Linked DNA regions of Homo sapiens: region 2 is linked to region 1. The links are contacts of gene promoters, found by promoter capture Hi-C in human tissues and cell types (Jung and others, 2019). All regions are on one chromosome and are shown on one strand. Each heading gives the region's core, a stretch centred on a gene start or on the middle of the fragment in contact. The rest is flanking DNA. Distances are from core to core; before and after follow the strand shown. Region 1 overlaps ADCY9 (adenylate cyclase 9). Region 2 holds the start of SLX4 (SLX4 structure-specific endonuclease subunit).

Region 1 (3,897 bases), core at 308-2,807:
CTGTCACCCAGGGTAGAGTGCAGTGGCGTGATCTCAGCTCACTGCAAACTCCGCCTCCTGGGTTCAAGTGAGTCTTGTGCCTCAGCCTCTCGAGTAGCTGGGACTATAGTCATGCAACATCATGCCCGTCTAATTTTTGTGTATTTTGTAGAGATGGGGTTTCATCATGTTGCCCAGGCTGGTCTTGAACTCCTGAGCTCAAGCAATCCAGCTGCCTTGGCCTCCTAAAGTGCTGTGATTACAGGCGTGACCCATGGTGCCTGGTCTGGGAATCCTGTTTGATTTTGAAAGTCTGAGAAACACTTTTGAAATGGCTTGGAGAAAATGTGAAGTGAATAATTATTATTTTTTTAATGTGCTTCAGTTCCCATGTGAACATTATTTTAGAGAGAGATTGGAAGGTTAGTTGCCAGTAAAATGAATTTCACTGTGTTGGCAAGTTTTTCACTCGTAGGACTGAGTGAATCCTGGACTGACAGTGTTCTTACCGATGATTCTGTTGAGGAAGGACTTGCTTGCTCTTGTTGCTCTTGACGGTGAGCTTCTGGATCTACTGGCCCTATATTGAGTGTGCAAGGGGACGTGTTAGTCCTCTAGTTGTCCCCCACATTAATGCATCTGGAAAGTGTCTACCTTAGATGTTGTAATTAGAAATTAGAGGGCTGGGCGCGGTGGCTCACGCCTGTAATCGCAGCACTTTGGGAGGCTGAGGCATGTGGATCACCTGAGATCAGGAGTTCGAGATCAGCCTGGCCAACGTCCGAAACCCTGTCTCTACTAAAAATACAAAAATTAGCCGGGCATGGTGGTGCGCACCTGTAATCCCAGTTACTCAGAGGCTGAGACAGGAGAATCGCTTGAACCTGGTAAGTAGAGGTTGCAGTGAGCTGAGATTGCGCCATTGCACTCCAGCCTAGGTGACAGAGACTGTCTCAAAAAAAAAAAAAAAAAAATTAAATGTCATCAACATTGAAAGGAAACTCTTGGATTTTGTCAAAGATTTATAAAAAGTTTTGAATGATTTTATTTTTTTCATTCAGAAGCATAATTTCCCTCTTAAAATCCCTGATGTGGATCATTTGGTTCCCTGTCATTTCCATTTTCTTTGTTCAGAGTGTCTCTTCTGGATCTCCTGAGTTTCTGTGTGTGTTTTCTTCCTTTTTGCTCAAATGATGAGCACACATGAAAGCTTTTCCTCCTTTGCCTGGGTGAGGCGGTGTTCCAGGTGTGATCTGCAGTGCCTGATTATTATATTGTATTAATCTCCTCAATTTTATTTTCTGGCTTGTCTGCATTTTTCCTTTTCTTTCTTCTCCCTTTTTTTTTTCTTATTAGAGATGGGGGTCTTGCTGTGTTGCGGGGCCTCGAGCGATCGTCCCACTTTGGCCTCCCAAAGTGCTAGGATTACGGGCGTGAGCCACAGCGCCTGGCCTCCTTTTCTTTATAGTAATTTGAATGTGGTGATTTTAATCCTCCATGGTTTTCTTATCCTTCCTCAACAAACAGCAAAGAGGCTGCTGGAAAGCCACATGACATTTGCTGTGATTTGCACGGCTGATGGGAAAACACTACTTGGTTCTGAAGGACAGGGTTGTCATTGGATACCTTTGCCCTCTGACCCGAGTGAGAATCTCACCTGGACAAAGACCCGAGTTGTGAAATCACACAGAGAAAGTGTGATTCCGAACCTGCTGCTGTCCTGTGCTTCCTGAGGACAAGTGAGTGACTGACTCCGTGTGCCAGGAACTGCAGGAGGTTAAAAACTTTCAGAACTACCATGCAAATAAGAAATTTCAAAGGACTTTTCTCTAACACACATTTCATAGTGAACGTCTCAGCTGGATTAACATAATTAACGCTGTGTTCTTTCTGGCTCCTGAAAGAAATTGTGATTAGGAACACTTTCAGGGCTGATGAGTCTAAGGTATCAACTTTGTCCCTTCTGCCACTTGAAGTTCAAATGGAAATGTTTGCTTTCATAGCTCCAGTCATGATGTTACTGTATTTAGTAGCTATTAAGTTTCCAATTCCATAGACTCCTGGGAGAAGTTCCAGTTCGCACTAAGGCTTCTGTTGCATTTAGCACCACTGCCTATGGTGTGTGGAGCTTTCCTGAACAAGTAATAGCAGCAAGGTTCTTAGCTTAGTAATAATTTTAAGCTATTCTTTGATTTTTTAAACAATTAATTAATTAATTATTTTGAGACAGCGTCTGGCTCTGTCGCCCAGGCTGGAGTGCAGTGACGTGATCTCAGCTCATTGCAGCCTCCGCCTCCTGGGCTCAAGTGATATTCTCCAGCTTCAGCCTCCTGAGTAGCTGGGACTGCAGGCGCATGCCAACACGACTGACTAATTTTTGTATTTTTTGTAGAGACAAAAATACTTTTTTTATGTAGAGACAAAAAAAAAGTTGAATGATAAAATCTTTTATTACTTAATAATATACTTTGATTGAGATTTAGCCATTTCATTTTCACTAGTGTCCAGACGTTTTCCTGAAAGGCGTGATTCCATGAGATTTAATACTGAATTATAATTTGATGTAAATGTTTTATATAATCAGTTGTTTGTTTTTAAACAGTAGCCTCTTTTCTAGGCCTGCTCTAGGTTGATTAAATATTAAGTTTTCTGATCAGCCAGATCCTTAATAGAGAGCTTCGGGGACAGCAAATGGTTGAATATGAAACCAACCTCATTTGCCATGTTGTTAGATATAAATGTCAGTGATAGCACTTTCTGGATGGTTGAGTTTTCTGAAGAGCAGAGGATTTTCTCTTTTAATCAATCAGATAATTTTCTGTTTTAACCAATTCAAACATTTGATTTTATGTTTCTGAAATAGATAAAGCACTTTCATAAAAATGGACTGTGCCAAATAAGAGGTAATTTTCTTGATGACTCAGTTATTTTTGCCTCTTGTTATTTGGCTTTTACTAATATAGCAATTTCTCTATAAAAATAGGAATCTTTGCTTTTTTAAAAAAACTGAGATCATTCTGTTTTTCCAGTTCTTACATTTTAAAAAATAATTTTTTTGGCTTCTTTTGCTATCCATGTATGTAGCTGTTGGTGTGCTTTCCTGTATCACATTTGCTCCTGGTTTTTACTTCGTTACATTAAAAAACCAAACCAACAAGTAATTAAGCTCGTTCAGCCTGCAGATATCGTTTGATGGAAAGGGCTAAGGAGTCAGCCTTTGTGCAGGTTTTTAGTTGTCAGCTATAGTCTGAGTAAGTGAGGTTGCTAGGTACAGGCGTTCAGGATGTGTAAGATGTTATTACAGTTATTTTTAGTGTATTATTAAGGGGGAGGAGGAGAAAGAGAAATTTGAATCAAATTTGTGTCTTATTAAATAGGACACGTTTTCCATAAGACCAAAAGGGCATTTCTTTTGCTTATGTACTAGAAATAGAAAATGGAAATTAGATATTAGATTGTATAATCGAAAGTCAATTAGAATTAATGAACAATTCTATAACTAGTTATACTGTAAGCTAAAATGTGAATGTTAAATTAGGGAAGTATTGATTTTTATGAAAATTTACCAGAATTTCAGGAAAGGACTTTGCTTACTTTCCCAAGAAACGTCTGGTAGGAGTCACTGTAGAAATTTGGTGTGTTCTGTACAACACTGCCCAGGAGGAACTGGCCACATTTCTTCCTACTTGGTTCTTTTGTTTGTTTGTTTTTTGAGACAGGGTCTTGCTCTGTTGCCTAGACCGGAGTGCAGTGGCACGATCTCAGCTCACTGCAACCTCCGTTTCCTGGATTCAGGCAATTCTCGTGCCTCAGCCTCCCAAGTACCGGTGATTACAGGCACCCGCCACCACACCTGTCTAATTTTTTGTATTTTTAGTAGAGACAGGGTTTCACCATGTTGGCCAGGCTGGCCTTGTA
Region 2 (3,648 bases), core at 303-2,802, 480 kb after region 1:
AGGGGATGGGGTCGGGGGAATTGCGGAGTGACTACGAATGGGTACGGCAGGTTCGATTTGGGGTTTTAAAACGTTCTGGAATTAGCGACGATGGCTGCAAATCCTGTGAACGTACTGGAAACCACTGAATGTACACTTCTAGTGTGCATTTTATGATACTGTATCTTTTAAAAAACATATTGTCTGCCCTGCAAACTGATTCCTTTACACCTCTCCTGTGTTCATTATTTCAGTGACTGGAGGCACACTACTCTCAGATGTTAAGGCCAGAAACCGGCAAATCGTTAACAACTGCGTCTTGACTATGCTCCATATTTCTCCATTCTTTTCGCTCCACCTCCTAATTCGGGCCGCTCTCACTTTTCATCTAGATTATGTAATAGCCTCCTAATGGGTGTCCTTGCCTCATCTGTTCTCACTGTAATTAGGCCTTTAAAAACAAAATCTTACGCCGGGCGTGGTGGCTCACGCCTGTAATCTCAGCGCTTTGGGAGGCCGAGGCGGGAGGATCTCTTGCGGCCAGGGCTCGAGACCAGCCTGGGCAACATAGTGAGACTCCCCCCCCCGCCCCCACCGCCCGTCTCTACTTAAAAAAAAAAAAAAAAAAAGCCGTGAGCGGTGGCTCACGCCTGTAATCCCACCACTTTGGGAGGCCGAGGCGGGCGGATCACCTGAGGTCAGGAGTTGGAGACCAGCCTGGGCAACAGAGTGAAACCTAGTCTCTACTAAAAACACAAAAATTAGCTGGGCGTGGTGACTGGCGCCTGTAATCCCAGCTACTTGGGAAGGTGAGGCACAAGAACCGCTCGAACCCGGGAGACAGAGGTTGCAGTGAGCCGAGATCGCGCCACTGCACCCCAGCCTGGGCAACAAGAGCAAAACCCCGTCTCAAAAAACAAACAACAAAAAACCTTCAATGGCTCCCGACGACCCCAAGTTGAAGCTCAAACCCTTAATACGATGTGTAAAGTCCCTCAAATACCAAGCCATGGCAAACCTCTGCTACCTTTCCCCCAGGCCCTGGCTGGCTTCACCCTAGCCCTGCGGAAGAGCTCGGGCATCCCCTCCAGGCACCTGAAGCGCGGCAGAATCCCCTCTTCACGTAGCTAACCCTCCCCGACCTCCAGGCCTCGACTCTCACGCCACCCCACCTGAGAGGAAGCTTCTCGGGCCCCCAGGCCAGATTTGGTGCCTCTCCCGGTCCCCCTCACACCGTCCACTCTCCGCTCCACAGGCAGGTATGCCCAGAGGGGGCCGCCGTTGTATCCGCGAACATTTCCTGAGCCAGCTGGGGAGGAACCAGACTTTATCTCACAGCTGCCACAGTGCCTTAAACTCGCCCTAACTCTTTCTCAAAAACTAACAGACTCCACCTGAAGCAAGCGCCGCTTCCGCCTCGCCCCGCCTCCTGCCGACCGGAAGCGCTGGCCGCCGCGGGCCCGCGCCCGGCGCCGCAGAGGAAGACCGGAAGCGAGGCTGCCGCACCACCGCGCGCGCCCGCTCTGCGCCTGCGCGCAGGCAATGCTCCGCGGGGGCGCGGGCGGCGCATGCGCAGGCGCGCGAGTCTCCGTTAAGAAGGTGCCGCGGCGGCGCCGGAGGTAGGAGGAGCCGGGCTGTGGGGCTGGGAGTCGGCACCCGGGAGGCGGAGGTCCTGTCATTTCGGGCCGTTCTCTCTTTCCTAAGGGAGAAGAGCCTTTCTCGCCCGTCTCCCTCGCTGGCTCCGTGGCCTCGGCAGGCCCGCAGCCCCGACGGAGAGGCAGGAGCCGCACTCGGGTGGAGAGGGGCCGGGGCCCGCCTGGAGGGAGGAGGGTGGCGGATCCGGATCCCCACGGTGGTCTCCGTCCGGGCCAGTCCGGGGATCGGGGTTCTCCGTCTGACTTTAGAGCCGTTAGAGTCTTTGGCAGCCCTTTTCCCAGACGGGGAACCCCTCAGCCCCTTTCCGTAGGTCGCCGGGTTGGGGGAAGCGGGAGGGTCCGCCCCTTACCGATCCATTCATTCATCCCTCGCCTGCTGTGAGCCGTGGGCTGCGGTAGGTACGAAGCAAGGAGGCACAAGTCCCCTTCCCTCTGGAAACCTGCAGGCTTGCAGGATCCGTTATGTCATTCAGTAAATCTTGACTGGGCACCTATAGGAGGAGATAGACTGTTGTGAGGTTCATATCAACAGAGATGCGGAGATCAACACAGTTGTGGAGGTGGAATTTGTTCCAGCCGCTCCCCGCATCCAACAGGATAAAATTCACTTTGCCTAGCCTGACCTTCCAGGCCCTTGTGAGCCAATCCTTTCCTCTCCCCGCAGCGTTTTCTCCTACACCTTTCTCTCTACTCCCATTATACCGAACTCTTTGCAATTCATGAATTCAACAAGTAGTTGTGGAGCACTTATTTCAAGTCAGGCACCAGATCAGCCAAAGAGGTTGCAAAGTAATAGATGGATCTCTACCCTCCTGAAGTGTTGAGCTTAATGGGGGACAGATAATAAGCCGATGAATAAAAACACAAGAGCGGATAGTTTCGAACCACACTTCCTGGGTTTGATCCCAGCCCTGCCACTGTGAAAGCTGTTCCTGAACTGGCTTTAGGCCAGTTCCTCATTCTGCTTGCGCGTGTTTCCTTGCCGTAAAGACAGGATGACAAGAGATTCCACCATATAGGCTTCTTGTAAGGATTAAACGAGTTTGACTTGGAAAGCAATTGGAACAGTGCTTGGCACACAGTAAGCATTCGATAGATATTACCTGTTTCATATGATGATAACCTATGACAGATGCCATTGTGAAAACAGTGGGCGATGATAGGGATTAACGGGGATGGAGACGGTCCATAAAGGATTAGAGGACACTTCTCTAAGGGGAAGACACAGAAGAGAATGCGCCAGCCATACAAAGTAGATTCTAGGTAGGAGTATTTTCAGCTCTGGAAAACAAAATGATTAATTAGATTCCTTGGACAGTGGAGATTGCATTATTGTATTTGAAAGGAATAACTTTCTGCCATTGGGTCATTCAGTTTTGATTTTTGAACCCCACTTAGCTGTGTGCCAAAGTAAACAACCATGCTCACGAGGCCCAGCCTTTGCACACAGGCGACATTCCAGTCATCCAGGTTTGGAGAGCCTTGCTGGGTTGAGAAGATAAGTAAAAGTGACCTTTTCTCTCCTGAGTGTTCATGAGAATATAATGTCTCTTTCTGTCTCTTATGTTGCAGTATTTACAGAAAGAGCCTCTTTAACAGCCAGGGGTCTTAGATCAGTGTAGGAGATAGTTTTCCTAGATTTGGGGATCATCCTGTTTCTGTGGTGACTGCCTTTTATGGGGTTTGCTCCCTAAATTTCAGTTAAGAAAACACTCTCCCAAGATGCACATATTTTAATACCTGTGGAAGAACAACATGCTTTGACAGGTTTCTAGGTCCTTTTGTTGTGATGTCTGATAGGACGGTTAGACCATGTTAACCAGGCTGGACTGAGTATTTGACAGTATTGTTACTCCGAAGACTTTTCCCTCACCCCACATGCCCTTGTCCCTCCCTGGAAGAACTGGCATAAAATGACAATGTCTGATTACACTTACATGCTTTTGGTTTTCCACAGATGTGTAATTAAGTGAACCATATATGTTTCATCATCATGGAGATCTTGGAGAATTAT

What was found. Contacts are between HindIII fragments. The study calls those that stand out against the background at their distance.
Region 2: the fragment with the promoter of SLX4 here is called in contact with a fragment that was not itself captured in region 1 in 1 of the 25 tissues and cell types used here (dorsolateral prefrontal cortex).

The regions. Positions count from the first base shown.
Region 1 is chr16:4,092,064-4,095,960 of GRCh38, reverse strand. The region is part of intron 2 of ADCY9 (adenylate cyclase 9); the gene reads left to right. Among named protein-coding and RNA genes, the nearest start is that of ADCY9, 22 kb to the left of the region's middle. RefSeq lists a silencer at 1,519-1,813. The HindIII fragment of the contact is 3,047 bases long and covers 34-3,080 here.
Region 2 is chr16:3,609,510-3,613,157 of GRCh38, reverse strand. SLX4 (SLX4 structure-specific endonuclease subunit) reads left to right here and starts at 1,552. Exons shown (of 15, transcript NM_032444.4): 1 at 1,552-1,598; 2 at 3,592-3,648. It also overlaps a transcript of DNASE1 not described here. RefSeq lists an enhancer at 1,235-1,304 and a silencer at 1,345-1,694. The HindIII fragment of the contact is 5,274 bases long and covers 1-3,648 here.